Linked DNA regions of Homo sapiens: region 2 is linked to region 1. Evidence: promoter capture Hi-C in 16 types of primary human blood cells and fetal thymus (Javierre and others, 2016). All regions are on one chromosome and are shown on one strand. The core of a region is centred on a gene start or on the middle of the fragment in contact, and the rest is flanking DNA. Distances in the headings are between cores, read along the strand shown. Region 1 holds the start of CNIH3 (cornichon family AMPA receptor auxiliary protein 3). Region 2 has its middle 72 kb from the start of DNAH14.

Region 1 (4,916 bases), core at 2,047-4,546:
CCTGAAATCAGGGTGTCTCTGGTTTCCCAGTTCAATGTTCAGGAACCAAATCAGTGTGATGGGGTTTGGGTTGTTTGATTTGGAGAGAGGGAAAGGGATAGAGAAGGAAAAGACTAGGAAAGGAGGGACTGAGACTATGAAATTATTACCGTAATTTGAAATCAAAACGCACAAATTCTTTTCATTATTAGAAACAAGAATCTTGCCACTTCCACGAGGAATCTGGATAAAACCTGAGTTGGAATTTGACTGCATTTCAGCCACCCCTCGATAAGGGGGTGAGCATTGAGAAGCTGGAGGATAGAGCCAGTGCTGGATGAGGGAACACCTGATTTTCATTCAAATGTCAACCAGCTGCACAAACCACTCAATGAAGCTGTTCTTGAATTATTAATCATCTTTCCCTGAATGAGAGAAAATGATTCTTTCTGGTTACTTGCTCTGCTTCAGGGACCAATTCAGAGAACTCCAAGCCAGACTCGAGTTTGAGGGAGCTCTCTGGTACCTGACACCCTCTGGCCAAGGCAAAAACAGAAAACAGCAAATGAAGTATTGCAGAAGAAAAGGGAGTAGTTGGCCTTCTAGAATCCAAGTAACTCCCCATATCCAAAGAAGCTGAGAAAGTTCCTTTAAAGCACATTAGCAGAGGTTTGCTGCACTGCTTGGGCATGATCTAATCTGTATTCCTTTCTATTCTAAATCAGGTAAGTTTCCTTTTCCCTTAAGAACTGTCAACAACTTCAAGCCTCAATTTTCTACTATAGATTAGACCCAGCCTTGCAGAGCAGAGAAGGGAGGGTTTAAAATCCCATTACTTCTAAATAGCGGAATTGTTTTAATCATCCCCCAAATATCTATGTTTGGATTCCCTGTCACCCCCAGATTCCTAAGTCTACTGATGCACGGATTTACACAATCTGAGAAATGGGGGAAAGCTTAGCGACTATCCAGGTCAATTTTCTCACTTTAGAGATGTGGAAGGAAGCCAGCAAGGGTCTTTCCTAAGGTTACATGATCGGAAGCCACCTTCCTCCCCGAGTTTCCCCTCTCCTCTCTGTCAGAGCCCTGTAGCAGGAGCTGCTCTAGCTGCTTAGTTCTATTTTAAGACAAACTCTCACTCTGCAAACCACTTATAGAAAACAAGGGCATCTCACCCACCCTGCAATTTTCTCCACGTCTTCATTTTGGGTCATCCCCACTGTATGAGAGTCTGTGATGCTCACCAGAACCATGCCTCCAAGAATTCGTCTCAGGGTCCTTCTCTGTCACCTAGACGCTGGGCAGGGCAAGGCTGTTAAAGGTGGGAAATTATGCACTGGGGTGCTCCTTCTAAACATTTGGCCTTGGCCATTCTTCCCACCAGCCCTCTGAGGGTGAGGATAGGGGGCTTAAACAACCTCAGAGAAGGAAGCCTTGAGAGTTGCATGCACTCGCTAAATGTTGCACAGTCTTTGAGAGGACCGGCGTACGCACTCCTGCGCGCTCTCTCAGTACTTCTCTTCCCCTATTCAGAAGCTTGCGCTCCTCTATTCCCACCCACACCTAAAGAACTGGGATCCACGGCTGCCCTCCACCTGGCGTAGCCCCGGGAAGGGTGACAGGAAGCTTGTGTGGGCTGGGGACGCTGGGGGCCTAGCGGAGGTTCGCCACCTGCAGGGGGTCTTCAGGAGTCGGACTTCAGACGCCAAGAGGGCAGATGGAGGACACCGTCGTCGCTCTCCACGGTCTCTCTTCGTGACTTTCCTCCATGGCCTTAATGATGCCTGCCCTTCCCAGTCTCCCTCGCCTCCTTGCTCTTCTCCTTCTCGCCTTTCCCCCACCGCCTTCCACTTCGACCCCCATCGCCTGGTCTCCTTCCTCTCCGTGGGCTCGGCTTCTCCCTACCTCTTACAAGGCGCTCCCGTCGTGTTTCCACTTTGTCTCCAATTATATCTAAATGCAACCCACCACAGATGCTGACATTTTAAATGTTTAGTTATTATAGCTACTTGACTAATTGCCGGGACCGACGGCGGCGCTTCTCCTTCGCCTCCCGCCGGCAGGAGAGGACGGGGCGGGAGAGGAAGGGGTTAGTTGTGGTTGTAGCCGCCACTCCCCGGCGCCCGGGACCCGGGACGCCCAGTCGGGCCCTGCAGAGGGTGTCCTACCTGGGCACCAGCGGCCCCTCGCCTCCAGCCAGGGCACCGAAGGCGCGCCCGGCGGGATGCAGCGAACTGCCTCCTGCCCCGGGACAGTGGAGCGGCAGAAGGTCCAACCTTCCGGTTCGCCCACGCCCGCAAGGTGGAAAAAGTGGGGTGAAATCGGGGAAATTTAGCGAAATTGGGGCGAAAGAAGAGAGACCAAAGCGTGTTACTCACGTGCCAGATGGCGAAGAAGATGAGCGCAGCGCACAGCACCAGAGACAGCATGTAGCAGAACGCAGCGAAAGTGAAGGCCATGGCCGGCGGACCCCAATCCCACCACACACGCCAAGAAGCCCCTAGGAGCCCGATGCCTCCCTAGAGGACCGCACTCCCTCCAAGGAGCCGCGTCTGCACGCTCCTCTCCAGGCTAGTGCCCAGGAGGGCGCACAGCTAGCGAAGCGACTCGAGGGTCAGCGAATAAGCGCTGGATTCCCGCAGGCTCCGGCGACCCCAGACCCGGCCCTCCGGCGAAGACAGGAAAACGTGTGTCGAGAGTCGCTGGAGGGAACCGTCCGCAAATCGAAGAAGAAACCAAATCAGCAGCGAACACCTGCAAATTAGTGCCAAGCTGTGAGCCCCTCGAGACCAACACGACAAGCGATGCGACGACTCCACGGAGGACCGAGGGAGGAGGTCCCATTCGCCCCAGGAAGAGCTCTCTGCTTTTCTCCACTAAACCGCTGAGGAGAGACGAGCGCTCCGCTCCGGACCCTCCCGCGCCACCGGGGCGCAAACGGATAGTGTCCAGCGAGGTGCCCGAGCGGCCTCCGAGCTCCTCCCAAATCCCAGAGCCGGGCAGCGCTCTTTCCCGAGAGAAGGAGTCTTTAGGTAGCCGGGAGGAGGTAGGTCCCGTTGGTCCTGCGCCCCAGACGCGGCTTCCAGCGCAGCCGTGCGCTCCGAGGCGCGCCCGTCCCCAACCGTGACTCCGGCCAGCCGGCCTCCGCAACCCAAGTGTCCCGGAAACCGGGGGTCGGACCGGGGCGAGCACTGGCTCCACCCAACGGGCCAACTCCAGCCCGGGTGGCTGCAGCAGTGGGTTTCAGGCCAAACGCTGTAGCTCGCTCCACCTGCTGCTGCCGCTGCCGCCGCCGCCGCCGCCGCCTTTGCCACTGCGAGAACTGTAGCGGTGCGACCCGGGATTCCCTCCTCTCGGCGCCCCACCCTCGACTCCTGTTCCGCTGAGCGCGCCCTCCCCGGCGGGCGGAGACTGCAGCGCCGGGGGCTGAGGAAAGGTGGGTGGCGAAGCGCCGCCGGGCGCTTGGTGGCCGCTGCCGCCGCCACTGCAGCTGTGCACGCCCGCCTCTCGGAGGAAACTTGAAGCCAGCAGTACAAGCAGGGCTGGAGGCCGAGCGGAGGTGGGGCGGGACCGGTTGGAGCAGGGACTCTTTAAACACGTGCGTCTGGAGGAGGTGGGAAGCTGCGGAAGGGTATGGTGTGTGCCTCGCGCCTAAACGCCGCAGCCGCCCCTCCCGGTTCTTGCAGTTTCGCCTATCGGAGTGGGAAGTGTGGGGACTTGGGGCGTTGCCTAGTGTTGGTTGGGGATACAGTGCAAGCCTTGGATCCCAAAGCTGCTTGGATGGATTTTACCAAACTGTAGCATACTCAGTGCTTAGGGCTGCGTTTACTGCTCTGCTCCCAGACCCTGCAAAATTCTCCATTAACGTCCTTCCGTTGCATCCTCTACCCTCCCCAGCCATCCGACCTTGGGACTAGGGAAACGTGGACTTGGTGGGCTATTCTGCGCTGAAGAGGCAGCAACGAGGGCTCGGTGGTATTGGTGTTGGTCCTAGTGGAATTGTCAAGAGGATGCTTTTGAAGGTAGACCGTTTTCTAGCTGCAAGTTACCTAACCTCTTTAATCCTTAGTTTCCTTATCAGAAAAACATAAATAAGAGTAGAGTCAAGCCATTTCAAAGGATTAAAAGGGAACATAAGTAAAAAACCTAGCACTTGGTATACGTTCAATAAGTGGTAGGGATTATTAATTGCACCCTTTCCCCCAGTGGCCCAGCATCTTGGAAGTTCACCATGCTTGCTTTGCAAGAGATTCCTGACGCTGCAGTGAAAGAGGTCCAGTCATTCCAGAGAGAACTTCAGTTTCAGACAAGTCATCAAATCCAGAAAGCAAGGAAAAATACCCTGAAAGACGACTGGCAAATCTCGGTGAAAGAGTAGACGCACTTCATGGATTGGAGTGAATCTTAGAGCACCTGGTACCTTGCACAGGGTGGGAACTAGATAAATAACTATTGCTTGATTCTGACTCTGGTGTGCTAGTTTTCCTGTTCACAGATGTGATTCCAATGCCTTGAGAGCTGGAAGGGATGAATTCCAGCAAGATAGAGATACAGCTTTCTAGTGACAGAACTGGAATCCTGTCTGCGGACTCCTAATCCTGGGCTCTTTCTACTATGCCCCAACATTCCTGCAGCTATTTGGCCACATCTTTTACTTATTTATTTATTTATTTATTTATTTATTTATTTATTTATTTGACGGAGTCTCACTTTGTCGCCAGGCTGGAGTGCAGTGGCGTGATCTCTGCAACCTCCACCTCCCTGGTTCAAGCGATTCTCCTGCCTTAGCCTCCCGAGTAGCTGGGACTACAGGCACGCACCACCACGCCCAGCTAATCTTTGTATTTTTAGTAAAGACGGGGTTTCACCATGTTGGCCAAGATGGTCTCGATCTCTTGACCTCGTGATCTACCCACCTCGGCCTCCCAAAGTGCTGG
Region 2 (4,620 bases), core at 674-3,173, 240 kb before region 1:
CATTCTCAATGGTAAATATGAAAATAAACTTGCTGTTTTAATTGATTAGGCTGGGCATGTAGAGGGGAAGGAAATCAGTGATGAGGGTGGTGGATGTGAGACGATAGGGTGAGAAAAGAGTCGTGGGTAGTTTGCGGCTTACCTTGCCTCTCCTTCCATTTCATCCTTCAGACTCAAGACATTATAGGAAATATCATTCGAAACTGGAATTTCCAGGGATGTTTACAACCTACTACAGTTCCTTGACAATTAGAAGGACAGTTTTCTCCTGAGCGATGAAGATAAATTCAAATGAGGAAATAGTTTTAGAAACATGAACTCCACTTCCCTCCACCCCCAAGAAAATGAGCACATACTTTTCAGTAGTGATTTTGACAATGTTATTTATTACTCTACAGTTGAAGAAAATGAAGCATATGGTGTGCAAACACCTTTCAGGTCCATGGATGTGGATACAAGAAGTTTTTTTGTGAAAAACATCTCAGTTCTATACTTAAATGCCTGCAAAACAGCTGCTGCCACTGTACAATATGCAATTCTTGGTGGCATTTGGTAGCTTGAAAAAAAATTGGTACTGGATGTACTACTGATGTCATAGGAATAATTATACTACCAAACAGTTGCTGAAATCTATTTTTAACATAAATCTCAATAATAGATAAAAATGAAAGATTTTGTAAACCTGTTACAGAGAGAGAGAAAAAAAAGACTCAGGTTTAAAGAATTAAAGTAAGCCAGGAAGATTCTCTACTAAAATTGTTTTCTTGAAGGTCACTAATGTCTACTCTCCAAATCCTGTCACCCATTATTGGTCCTCACCTTCCTTCTCTTCACCTCTCTCTTTCTTGTAACTCTTCTCCTCCTTTTCTTCTAAAATGTGCACTCTCCTGGTTCTCCTCCTTATTTCTCTGAGTGTCTTCCTATCTTTCTCCCATCTCTTGCCTTTGAACAAGTTGAGAGAAGTGGTTACAAAAGTGAGGTTGGAGCCAACACACTTGGGTTTGAATCTCAGTCTGATCACTCTTTGAGTAACCTGGGGAAATAATATCTGTAAATCTCAATGTTCTCATCTATCTAGTCAAGATTATAAGTGCTCATACCTGTAATCTCAGCACTTTGGGAAGCCGAGGCAGGCAGATCATGAGGTTAGAAGTTCAAGACCAGCCTGGCCAATATAGTGAAACCCCATCTCTACTAAAAATACAAAAAATTAGCCAGGCATGGTGGCAGACACCTGTAATCCCAGCCACTCGGGAGGCTGAGGCAGGAGAATCGCTTGAACCTAGGAGGCGGAGGTTGCAGTGAGCCGAGATTGTGCCATTGCACTCCAGCCTGGGCAACAGTGTGAGATTCTGTCTCAAAAAATAAATAAATAAATATGTGTACTACTATGAGGAAAGCTCCCCTGAGGACCACTCTTTGCATAACTTCAGAGGCCATCATTGCATTCTAGGATAATGCTCCCTATCTCCAGAGTTTGAATAATGCAGCAAGAGCTCTGCCTTCCTCACAAGTGTAAGGTCTGTGAAAGCAGACACTGTTTTGTTCACCAAGTGCCTAGAACACTACTTGGAAAACAGTAAATACCCCCCAAAATATGTACAGAATGGCAGCTCTATCATCATTAGATACTCAGCTTCGTCTTTCTGCTCCACCATCCTGAGTAAGGTTTCTATCCTCACAGTTACATCATGGTCCAAGATGGCTGCTGGTGCACCAGCCATAACATCCATACTCTAAGCTTTTTATAAAAGAGGAAGAGCACAAAAGTGTACCTCCCTGCTAATCCCTCTTTAATGAGCCCTCCCACAAAACCCTTTCATTTATAACTGTTTGTCCTGAACTTAGATATGTGGCCACACCTAGCAATAAGGCACTGGTTTTTGGCCAGGCACATTGATGCCCCATATAAAATGAGGATTTTGTACTGAAGAAGGGCAGAATGTACATTGGGTTGGTGACTTACAGTCTCCCTTTTGGTACAGCTCAAAGACCTCTCCAGACTCTCTCTTATGATGGCCATCCCCCAGGCTTAGCACTAAGGAGGGCACTTCTCTGTGAATCAGCTTGTCACATTTTTGGAGCAATAAATGTCTAAAAGCTTTTGTTTTGGTTTGGTTTTGGCTCTGGTGATTGTTTTCCTATGACTTTTACCAATTTGTACTTGTTCTGTTCCATGAAACCATACTGAAAACAAATCTACATTTTTCCTTCAGTGTGACAGTGGATTTTTTTATTGGGCAATTGAATAACAGCCCTTCAAATATTTTAAGAAAGCTGTTTGGTGATAGTGAAGTTCTGCCTTTTTCAAGCTAAATTTCTCCAGCTCTTTAAATCTTTCCCCATAAAACCCTACAACATTCTTTTTGCACTCCCCAGAATGTTGATCAAGTTGTCACTGGGTCCAGATCTGACCCAGCCAGTGGAGAACTTGGGGGAACTAACTCTGTCTCTCTTATTTCCATCACCGGAGGCTGAGTCAGCTTTTTTGTCAACCACATAATATTACTGGTTCATATGGAACTTGGGTCTACTAAACTTTCAGATATTTTTCATAAGAATTGCTATTAAGATAAGTTCTTGTATTAGTCCATTTTCATGCTGCTTTGAAGACATAACTGAGACTGAATAATTTATAAAGAAAAGAAGTTTAATTGACTCACAGTCGTGCTTGGCTAGGGAGGCCTCAGGAAACTTACAGTCATGGCGGAAGACAAAACAGGCACATCTTACATGGTAGCAGACAAGAGAAGTGAGAGACAAGTGAAGGGGGAAGCCCCTTATAAAACCATCAGATCCTGTGAGAACTGACTCACTATCATGAGAATAATATCGGTGAATTGCCCCCATGATTCAATTATCTCCACCTGGTCCCGTTCTTGACACGTAGAGATTATTACAATTCAAGGTGAGATTTGGGTGGGCACACAGAGCCAAATCATATCATCCATTTTGTACTTTATAATGTTTTTAACCCAAATTAATTTGATCTTGTGATATTTTCTCTTTAATGTATGGGCCCAGCATTTTAAAAAGATCTTATTGAGCTCTTTTAGTATTTTGACTTGGCCCTCCAGGGGTTTCTCCATTCACACTGTCCTAGCTTCATATCCCCTACAGGTCTGAGCAGCTTGCCTTCCAAATCTTTATCCAAGCTGAATCACTTAGCAGAGCATTGTGATGGACAAAGCTCGTGGTAGGCTGTAAGAAATTGCCTCTCCAGTTAAAACTAACCCATTTTCATCTGAGGCAGATTCCTTCAGAGTCATGTACTAAGGCTTGGTTGAATTTCACAACATAACATAGACTGGGGAAGAAATGGACTTTACTAGAAAATGAAGCAAACGTACAAAATGAGAGTTAACAAGGGAAGGCAGGGCTCCCTCTCTCCCACTATCCTCATGAGAGGTGGGTGGTGCCAGGGCATTACAGCTGACTTCACCATGGAGGTTGTTCCAGGGGAGGGACCTGGCCCTCAGCTGCTTTCTATTCTTTTGGGGCAAGTCTGAGAACAAACTTATTGGGCACTGGGCAGTCTGGATTTGGGTGCCAGCTGTTCTCAGGAGCTTCCTGGGGGAAAGCAAGATGCCAGTGCCTGGAGACCCTAAGGCCCATGGGATGTTGCAGTCCCATCTGCTCCAGGGAGGATGCCATGGGGACACCCTACTAGAGAAAGGGATGCCCCAAATCCCAGCTGGCTTGTTGTTCAAACAACTTAGGGTAAGTTCCCAGGATCATTTTTGCTTAATTCTGTCTCTTGCATCAAACCTATTAATTAAAGTTTATTTGGGTTTAGTCTTTCATTCAGCTACAAATTCGCCTGAGAAAATGGACACCCAATGCTAATTATTCACCTTTTTTTTTTTTTTTTGGAGACGGAGTCTTTCTCTGTCGCCCAGGCTGGAGTGCAGTGGTGCGATCTCAGCTCACTGCAACCTCCGCCTCCTGGGTTCAAGTGATTCTCCTGCCTCAGCCTTCCAAGTAGCTGGGACTATAGGTGCCTGCCACCACGCCCAGCTAACTTTTTGTATTTTTAGTAGAGACAGGGTTTCACCATGTTAGCCAGGATGGTCTTGATCTCCTGACCTTGTGATCTATCTGCCCGCCTTGGCCTCCCAAAGTGCCAATTATCCACTTTGTCTACAAAGAAATCAGTAAAGCCTTGGTAAATAAATAGCCTACATCAAAAACTGACAGCGCAAGTTATACATATACACATTTCATCTACCTTTCCCCAGAATGTAAACTCTTTGAACAGAGAGACTGTGCATTATTCTGTAACCCATAGGGCTTAACCCTCTGCCCTATACAGTAATAGCAGCCACATTTATTCACTGACTAGGTTAGGCACTGTACTCGTGTCAGCCACCATTCTGGGTCTCTGACATGCATTATTTCATCAAATCCTTGCAACTCTTCAAGGGTAACCCGTGAATAATACCCATTGCATAGGTGATGAAACCGAGGGCACATAAGTACACAGGAAGTAATGGGACTGGATTTGAACTGAGCTCTATATGCCCCAAAGCCCTTCTTCTGTTGTATTAATTGTCTGATTACAGTGCAGATTAACAATAAATATCAATGAATAATCAAGTCTACTTCATCTTTGTGTTTCCA

What was found. The method cuts DNA at HindIII sites, captures the fragments that hold promoters and counts their contacts. A CHiCAGO score of 5 or more calls a contact.
Region 2: a fragment that was not itself captured here is called in contact with the fragment with the promoter of CNIH3 in region 1 in 3 of 17 cell types (M0 macrophages, M2 macrophages and M1 macrophages); the score reaches 7.7 in M0 macrophages.

The regions. Positions count from the first base shown.
Region 1 is chr1:224,614,697-224,619,612 of GRCh38, reverse strand. It overlaps CNIH3 (cornichon family AMPA receptor auxiliary protein 3), which reads right to left and starts at 3,296. Exons shown (of 6, transcript NM_152495.2): 1 at 2,358-3,296. The coding sequence starts at 2,438. CNIH3-AS2 (CNIH3 antisense RNA 2) reads left to right here and starts at 3,386. Exons shown (of 4, transcript NR_183287.1): 1 at 3,386-3,415; 2 at 3,877-4,001; 3 at 4,186-4,409. The HindIII fragment of the contact is 4,503 bases long and covers 1,608-4,916 here.
Region 2 is chr1:224,855,032-224,859,651 of GRCh38, reverse strand. No RefSeq gene overlaps it. Among named protein-coding and RNA genes, the nearest start is that of DNAH14, 72 kb to the left of the region's middle. RefSeq lists an enhancer at 1-432. The HindIII fragment of the contact is 360 bases long and covers 1,744-2,103 here.